Regions from separate parts of the Homo sapiens genome. Here all the other regions are linked to region 2. Evidence: promoter capture Hi-C in human tissues and cell types (Jung and others, 2019). All regions are on one chromosome and are shown on one strand. Each heading gives the region's core, a stretch centred on a gene start or on the middle of the fragment in contact. The rest is flanking DNA. Distances are from core to core; before and after follow the strand shown.

Region 1 (2,908 bases), core at 359-2,858, 95 kb before region 2:
TATAGAATCTTAGTATATGACAGAATAATAATATAAATTACTGGGTAAAGTACTATTCAATAATAAACTGAGTTGGGACAAGTAGCAATCTGTTTGGAAAAGGATTTAAATTAGATTCCTAACTTACATCATAAATAAAATAAAAATAAACTCCATTAAAGTCAGCTGGTTAGCAAAGCAAAACAAAAATAAACTCCAGATTCACTAGATGTAATAATAAATATAAATTTAAAACTTTAGCACTATTAAAGAAATTATATAGGCTGGGCATGGTGGCTCACACCTAGAATCCCAGCACTTTAGGAGGCCAAGGCTGGTGGATCACCTGAGGTCAGGAGTTTGAGACCAGCCTGGCCAACATGGTGTCTCTACTAAAAATACAAAAATTAGCTGGGCTTGGTGGTGGGGGCCTGTAATCCCAGCTACTCGGGAGGCTGAGGCAGGAGAATCGCTTGAACCTGGGAGGCAGAGGTTGCAGTGAGCTGAGATCACTCCACTGCACTCCAGCCTGAGCAACAGAGCGAGACTCTGTCTCAAAAAAAAGAAAAAAGAAATTACATAAAATGTCATTATGACTTTAGCGTAGAACTGTCTCTAATCAATGATTGCAGCTTTCACTTTATAAAACTAGAAACAGAAGAGCAAGTAAGACCCCAAACGAGCAAAAGAAAGAATAAAAGATCAGAGTGTAAATGAATGAAATAGAACAACAGGAAGAACCTGGTTCTAGCCAGACTGATCAAGGAAAATAAAAGAGAAGATATAAATAACCAACACCAGGGAGTAAGAAAGAGGATATTGCTAGAGATTCTACAAACATTAGAAAGATAATAAGGAAAATTATGAACAATTTTATGTCAATAACCCAATAACTTAGATAAAATGGACAAATTCCTTGACACAAATTACCCATGCTCACTCAGGAAAAAAAAAAAAGGCCAGGTGCAGTGGTACGTGCCTATAATCCCAGCACTTTAGGAGGCTGAGGCAAGAGGATCGCTTGAGCCCAGGAGTTCCAGACCAGCCTGGGCAACACAGTGAGACCCTGTCTCTACAAAAAATACAAACCAGGTGTGGTGGTGCAGGCCTATAGTCCTGAATCTGAGGCAAGAGGATCGCTTGAGCCAGGGAGGTCAAAGCTGCAATGAGCTGAGATCGCCCCACCATACTCCAGCCTGGGCGACAGAGACCATGTCTCAAAGAGAGAGAGAGAGAGAGACTGTATAATTATTAAAGAAATTGAATTTGTAGTTAAAATATTTCCTAGGAAGGAAAAAATCAGGCCCAGATGGCTTCCTTGATGATTTGCACCAAATATTTAAGGAAGAAATTGTACCAAATATTTAAGGAAGAAATAATATCTTCTACAAACTCTTCTAGGCAATTGAAGAACAGAGAATATGTCCAAAGTCATTCTATGAGGCCAGTATTACTTGTACCAAAAAAAGACAAAGACATTACAAGAAAAGAAAATTACACATATCCTTTGTGAACATAGATGCAAAAATTCTTAATAAAATTATGGCAAATCAAATCTAACAATACAGGCTGGAGTGCAGTGGCATGATCTCAGCTCACTGCAACCTCCACCTTCCAGGTTCAGCTGATTCTGCTGCCTTAGCCTTTGGAGTAGCTGGGAAGAAAGGCACGCACCACCACACCCAGCTAATTTTTGTATTTTTTAGTAGAGACGGGGTTTCGCCATGTTGGCGAGGCTGGTCTCGAATTCCTGACTTCAGATGATCTGCCCGCCTCAGCCTCCCAAAGTGCTGAGATTACAGGCATGAGCCACGGTGCCCGGCCAAGATTTTTATTTTTTGAGATAGGGTCTTGCTCTGTCTCCGAGGCTGGAGTGCAGTGGCAAAATTATAGCTCACTGCACCCTACAACTCCTGGTTTCAATCACTCCTTCTGCTTCAGCCTCCTGAGTAGCTAGGACTATAGGCATGCAGCACCATGCCCAATTAACTTTTAGAAATGTTTTGTAGATATGGGGCCTTGCTATGTTTCCCAGGCTAGTTTAGCAAGCTTGAAAAATATATAAACATCAATTGTATTTCAAATACTAGCAAGAAACAGTTGGAAAATGAAATTCTTAAAAAAATACCACTTACTGGCCGGGCCACATTTACAGTTAACTCTTCCACTTAAGTACTGAACCCCTCAAAGTCATCCATAAGGGTTGGAATCAATTTCTTCCAAACTCCTGTTAACGTTGATGTTTTGACCTCCTCCTATGAATGACGAATGCTCTTAATGGCATCTAGAATGGTGACTCCTTTCCAGAAGGTTTTTAATTGACTCTACTCACTATCTATGGCAGCTATAGTCTTATAAAATGTATTTCCTAAATAATAAGCCTTAAAAGTTGAAATTACTTCTTGAACCATGAGCTGTTCATGGATGTTCTGGCAGTGCATTTGACAGTCCCACCCATCTGTCTCTTGCTTCAATAGTATTTGGATGGAACAAACCCAGGGACTCCCTCTCTTCCAGCCTCCAACTGCCCTCCACTGTCCTCTCCACTTGCAACCTCCAGGACCATCTTCTCGGCCATCTCCTGCTTCTGAGACCAGCCAACACTGTTTTTGTGGTTAGCTCCTTCTTGCCAACTAGACTCATCAGAATTATTTCATCGAGTTGGAGGCAGCTGTCAATCGCCTGGTCAATTTGTATCTGTAGGCCTCCTACATCTCTCTCATTCTGGGCTTCTATTTTGACCACAATGATGTGGCACTGGAAGGCACTGGCCACTTCTTCCACAAATTGGCTGAGAAGTGTAAGGGTGCAGAGGATCTCTTGAAGTTGCAAAGCCAGCATGGCAGCCACATTCTATTGCAGTAGAGACGGGGTTTCACCATGTTAGCCAGGATGGTCTCAATCTCCTGACCTCATGATCCGCCCACCT
Region 2 (2,737 bases), core at 199-2,698:
AGCCTGGGCGACACAGTGAGACTCTGTCTTTAAAAAATTAAACAAAAAATAAAAATAAAATAAAATTGGAAGGACAGTGCCTCTTCTGAAATGGCTGAGAAACAAAAAGAACTCAGGTAAAGAACATATCCAAGTAGCTGGGGTGGAAGAGGGCAGCCTGGGGAATGTGTCCCAGATGGTATCAGAGAAGCCATTATGGAGCCACTAAAATGAGGAATGGTGGCTGACAACCTCCCTGGCGGGCTCTACTAGGAGATAAACCCAATCCATCAATCTCCATAAAAGGCTACTCTTTGCTGGAAGGTGACAGTGGGGAATCAGCCTAAACTTCTTTTTTTTTTTTTTTTGAGACCGAGTCTTGCTCTGTCACCCAGGCTGGAGTGCAGTGACGCCATCTCGGCTCACTGCAACCTCCGCCTCCCGGGTTCCAACGATTCTCCTGCCTCAGCCTCCCGAGTAGTTGGGATTACAGGCGCCCGCCACCACGCCGGGCTATTTTTTGTATTTTTAGTAGACACGGGGTTTCACCATGTTGGCCAAGCTGGTGTCGAACTCCTGAACTCGTGATCCGCCCGCCTTGGCCTCCCAAAGTGCTGGGATTATAGGCGTGAGCCGCCGCACCTGGCACGCCTAAGCTTGTTTTTACCGCCAGGAGGTGCCCTTGGACCACAGCTGAATTTTGAATGCTAGACAGTCGGGAAACTCAGTTGCCTAGACTTCCAGCTTGGTGTGTACGAGGAGACCCTGTCCCACCCAGAACTAGGGACCTCGCTGGGCCTCTCCACCAAGTATTCCTCTGGCGTGCTCACCACAGACCAGGACTGTGATGGACACACAATGAGTGAGAGAGAATCAGACCACGGATACTCACGAGCAAACAAAACATGACTAAGCGTAGCCTGGGTAGCAATGCCTCTTAGGCCTGTCCCAGTTCTGCCAGGTTATCTTTCTGCCCCTTGGTTCTCAGTTTCCGTAGCAATAAATAACACCTCTGCAATGACAAACTTTAAAATAATGTTTAAAGCGCTACAAAACAATGACTAGTTTTGCTTAAAATGTGGCGCACCTGTATTTTTGAAATGTTGCCCCAAGCTGCCACAGAAGCCGGCCAGCCCGCTACAAAAGCCCCTTTTTAGGGCCCTCGGGGAGATTCCTCTGTCATTAGCTCCCCGCCCCCCTCAAAGGGCCCAAGAGCAGGACCCATTGTGGTGAGCGACTCCCCAAGGCCTCCGCTTTTCTAGGCAGTGGTTGCGTTCAGAGCCCCTCTGACGCAGCAGTGGCGACCCTTTCCAGGGTGGTGACTGGCTGGCTGGGGCTGGGGGTGGGCTGACCTCCGCGGCGCCGCGCCACCACCAACAGGCCCCGCCCCCGTGCTGCGTGGTCATTTGTATGCAGCCTCGGGATTGGTCACTCGGCTCCCGCGAGGGGAAGGGGAGGGAAGCAGCGCGCACTCGCGCGTGCGTGAGCTGGCGCGCGAGAAAGGGCCCGGTCGCGTCCAGGCTCGAGCGGCCGTCGCCATTTTGTAAGGTTCTCTCTGACGTGGGAGCCGCCGTCGCTGCCGCCACCCGGAGGTGCGAGGGGGTCGTGTGTGTGTGATGTGGGGAGCTCGGGGGCGGGTCGGGCCGGGCCTCCGGCAGACTGCACGGCCCGGATTTGGGTTTCTCATTTTGCAGCGGGAGGTCTGGGAAGACAACGGGAGGAGGCGGGGCCGGGTCTCCGGAAGGAGGCGGGGCAGGGGTCGGGTCGAGTCTTTGTTGGGGCGAAGAAGCTGGAGGGTGGGCCGCTGGGGGCGAGGTGGTTGGTCCCCGGTTTGGGGGAAAGGGGACTTTTTTCTTTTTAGAGTATCTTGAAAGGCGCTAGTGCGCGCAGGAGAGGTACACAGATTTCCCTCCAAAACCTTGTTACCAGGCGCACTGCGATTGATGCCCCTTGCCTTTGCTTGGGCTTTTCTCTTCCCTCATTTTAAGACATGAAGCAGCTAATTCTGGTATTTCATTGCGCTCCACTTCACGGAGATGATAGACTGGGCTATGCATGCTGACCCTCGACCTCCTGTTTGCATGTCACGCATAGCTCGCACTTCTCGAGAACAAACCGCCCTTCTTCTATTGAGGAAGAATAATGAATGTCTGTACGAGGGTCTTGAAGGTGCAAGAACTTTGGAGGATTAGACGAAAATGCTGCAGTGCACCGAAATTTCCCACCACACCCCTGACTTTTGAAGTCTTGTGTTTCTCTCCCAGGCTCTTGTCAGGATGGTGAAGCTGTTCATCGGAAACCTTCCCCGGGAGGCTACAGAGCAGGAGATTCGCTCACTCTTCGAGCAGTATGGGAAGGTGCTGGAATGTGACATCATTAAGAATTACGGCTTTGTGCACATAGAAGACAAGACGGCAGCTGAGGATGCCATACGCAACCTGCACCATTACAAGCTTCATGGGGTGAACATCAACGTGGAAGCCAGCAAGAATAAGAGCAAAGCTTCAACCAAGTTACACGTGGGTAACATCAGCCCCACTTGTACCAACCAAGAGCTTCGAGCCAAGTTTGAGGAGTATGGTCCGGTCATCGAATGTGACATCGTGAAAGATTATGCCTTCGTACACATGGAGCGGGCAGAGGATGCAGTGGAGGCCATCAGGGGCCTTGACAACACAGAGTTTCAAGGTGAACTGCTCTGGGCCTGGGTAGTAGCGCCGAGTGGGGTCTAGCTCAAAACAGGCAAGAACACAAGACT
Region 3 (2,722 bases), core at 173-2,672, 77 kb before region 2:
GGCCTGGGTAACAGAGTGAGACTCCATCCTGAGAAAAAAAAAAGGGGGGAAAAGGGGGTTAACTGTATGTAGCATTTCCCAAACAGTATGTTTCATAGTCCACACTGGCACATGAGAGGTCCTGAACAGACCTATAGTTTAAAAACTTATTTTAACTAACATTTCCCAAATTTAAATGACTACATAACTCCTTTCTTATAACTCATATAAATATTCTGTGGCATACATTTTGGGAAACATCATGAAAATCATATTTGTTAAAGCCTTCAATAATTACTGATGGAAAAAACTAATTATCTCTTGGCTTCTGATAGATGAATCATCTCAGATATCAAATTTGCTAGTCTGTTGTGGGTTGAACTATGTCCCCCAAAAGATAGTTTTAAGTACTAGCCCCAGTGTATATGACCTTATTTGGAAATAGATGCCAGCAAGTTAAGACAAGGTCATACTGGATTAGGGTGTTCCTGAGTCCATTGACTGGTGTACTTATAAGAAGGCCATGTGAAGAAAGAGAGAAATACAGAGGAGAATGCCATGTGAAGGCAGGGAGTGATACACCTACAATCTAAGAAATACCAAGGATTGTCAGCAATCACCAGAAGCTAGGAGAGAGGCATGGAACAGATTTCTGAGTCTCCAGAGCAAACCAACCATACCAAGACCTTGATTTTGGACTTCTAGCCTCCAGAACTGTGAGAAAATAAATATATTTTGTTTCAAGCCATCCAGTTTGTGGTACTTTGTTACAGCAGCCCTAGAGAGCAGAGATTTCAAACCAAATTTAAAAGATACCACTGCACACTTCCAGGTAAAGACAGCCGATTGAACACACACGTTTATTTTCATTCCCTCCTGAAACCTCAATAAAATAATAGAAAAGAGATTTATAAGGGCACAAACCCACAAGGATGGAAAACAAGAGACAAACATGATTGTAATAAAAATCTAGACACTACAGGCTAGGCACAGTGGCTCATGCCTGTAATCCCAGCACTTTGGGAGACCAAGGCAGGTGGATCACCTGAGGTTAGGAGTTCGACACCAGCCTGGCCAACATAGTGAAACCCCGTTTCTACTAAAAATACAAAAATTAGCCAGGCATGGTGGCACACACCTGTAGGCCCAGCTACTCAGGAGGCTGAGGCAGGAGAACCTCTTGAACCCAGGAGGCGGAGGTTGAAGTGAGCTGATATCACACCACTGCACCTCCAGCCTGGGCAACAGAGTGAGACTCTATATCAAAAAAAAAAAAAAAATCTAGAAACTACAAAGCAGAACGACTAGTAGGAAAGGATTTAGGAGACCTGAGTAATCTAAGTATAAGGGGACAGGGAAGGCCAAGAAACAACCTGATTTATATAATAAAATTGCAAAACACTCAGGCATGGCAGTATCAGGAACCTCTGAATGTATGGGTGAGGTAGAAGATAAATTAAGGAGAGTCTGTTGAAAAATGAATTTAAATAAATCTTTAGATTCCCTCCTCCACTCAGCATTCAAGGGACTGGCTCCTCCCTAACTTTGGTGTGGATTGGGGAGAAGATACTTGAAAATGGTCAAGGTGTCAATCTTTGGGACGAGAATCAAAATTGTACTAAAAACAAGTGGAGTTAGTGAACAGAACCCCTGAATGCTGAGATACCCAATACCCCCTTTTCTCTCTCATTCCCAGAATCAAGTCTGGCTTTTACCCACTTGGTAAGAGACTGAAAGATCTGGTCATTCCAAGAGCAAAGACCTAAAGATATTGATATTGAAGAGAAGAGAAAGTTCCCCAGTTAAAAGCCCAATTAGATCACCTTTTAGTGATGCTAAAATTTCAAATCAGCTTTATAGTCTCTAACTCTTAAAAATGAGCAACCAGTAATTTTAAGATATTTGAAGAAAGCTTCTAACATGAAAACAGACACCAGACTAAGAAAAGCAATACAAGGGAAACAAGAACGAGGTGGAGAAAAGAAAACTTTAAAAAAATCTTTATATACTCAAAAAGATAATGCCTAGAAAGTAGAAGAGATAAAAATTATGAGAGAAACGATTTTAAAAAGGAAAAAGAACCAGTCTAGGAAGTCTAATATCTAAATAATAGAAGTTGCAGAAAGGGGGGAAAGAAAAGAGAGAATGCAAGGGAAAATCTCCCAGAACCAAAGAACAAGGGTTTCCAGGTTTAAAAGTCTTGCTGAGTGCTGAGCACAATGTTTGAAAACACACCCACACCCAGGTGCATCATTGTGACAATGGAGACCACAGCAGAGACTGCTGGTGCTCGCAAACAAATACCCCATTCTCCTTCTTCCTGAACACATAATCTGACTACGTTTTTCAGTCTTCCTTGCAACTGCAGGGCTGTGGCAATAAGACTAAGTCCTGGTTGGCCAGGCGTGGTGGCTCATGCCTGTAATCCCAGCACTTTGGGAGGCTGAGCTGGGCGTATCACCTGATGTCAGGAGTTCGAGACCAGCCTAGCCAACATGGTGAAACTCTGTCTCTACTAAAAATATAAAAATTAGCTGGGTGTGGTGGCAGACACCTGTAATCCCAGCTACTGAGGAGGCTGAGGCAGGAGAATCACTTGAACCTGGGAGGTGGAGGTTGCAGTGAGCCGAGATCATGCCACTGCATTCCAGCCTGGGCAACAGAATGAGACTCTGTCTTAAAAAACATAAAAACATGGCCGGGCGCGGTGGCTCACGCCTGTAATGCCAGCACTTTGGGAGGC

The links. Contacts are between HindIII fragments. The study calls those that stand out against the background at their distance.
Region 1: a fragment that was not itself captured here is called in contact with the fragment with the promoter of RBM4B in region 2 in 3 of the 25 tissues and cell types used here (bladder, liver and mesenchymal stem cells).
Region 3: a contact is called between a fragment that was not itself captured here and the fragment with the promoter of RBM4B in region 2, in 5 of the 25 tissues and cell types used here (H1 embryonic stem cells, IMR-90 fibroblasts, mesenchymal stem cells and 2 more).

The regions. Positions count from the first base shown.
Region 1 is chr11:66,771,382-66,774,289 of GRCh38, reverse strand. The region is part of intron 2 of TOP6BL (TOP6B like initiator of meiotic double strand breaks); the gene reads right to left. It also overlaps the pseudogene FTLP6. Among named protein-coding and RNA genes, the nearest start is that of TOP6BL, 28 kb to the right of the region's middle. The HindIII fragment of the contact is 4,546 bases long and covers 1-2,908 here.
Region 2 is chr11:66,676,598-66,679,334 of GRCh38, reverse strand. It overlaps RBM4B (RNA binding motif protein 4B), which reads left to right and starts at 1,448. Exons shown (of 4, transcript NM_031492.4): 1 at 1,448-1,571; 2 at 2,244-2,667. The coding sequence starts at 2,256. RefSeq lists silencers at 1,246-1,525, 1,726-1,835. The HindIII fragment of the contact is 6,531 bases long and covers 1-2,737 here.
Region 3 is chr11:66,753,659-66,756,380 of GRCh38, reverse strand. All of the region lies in intron 1 of TOP6BL (TOP6B like initiator of meiotic double strand breaks), which reads right to left. Among named protein-coding and RNA genes, the nearest start is that of TOP6BL, 10 kb to the right of the region's middle. The HindIII fragment of the contact is 4,704 bases long and covers 1-2,722 here.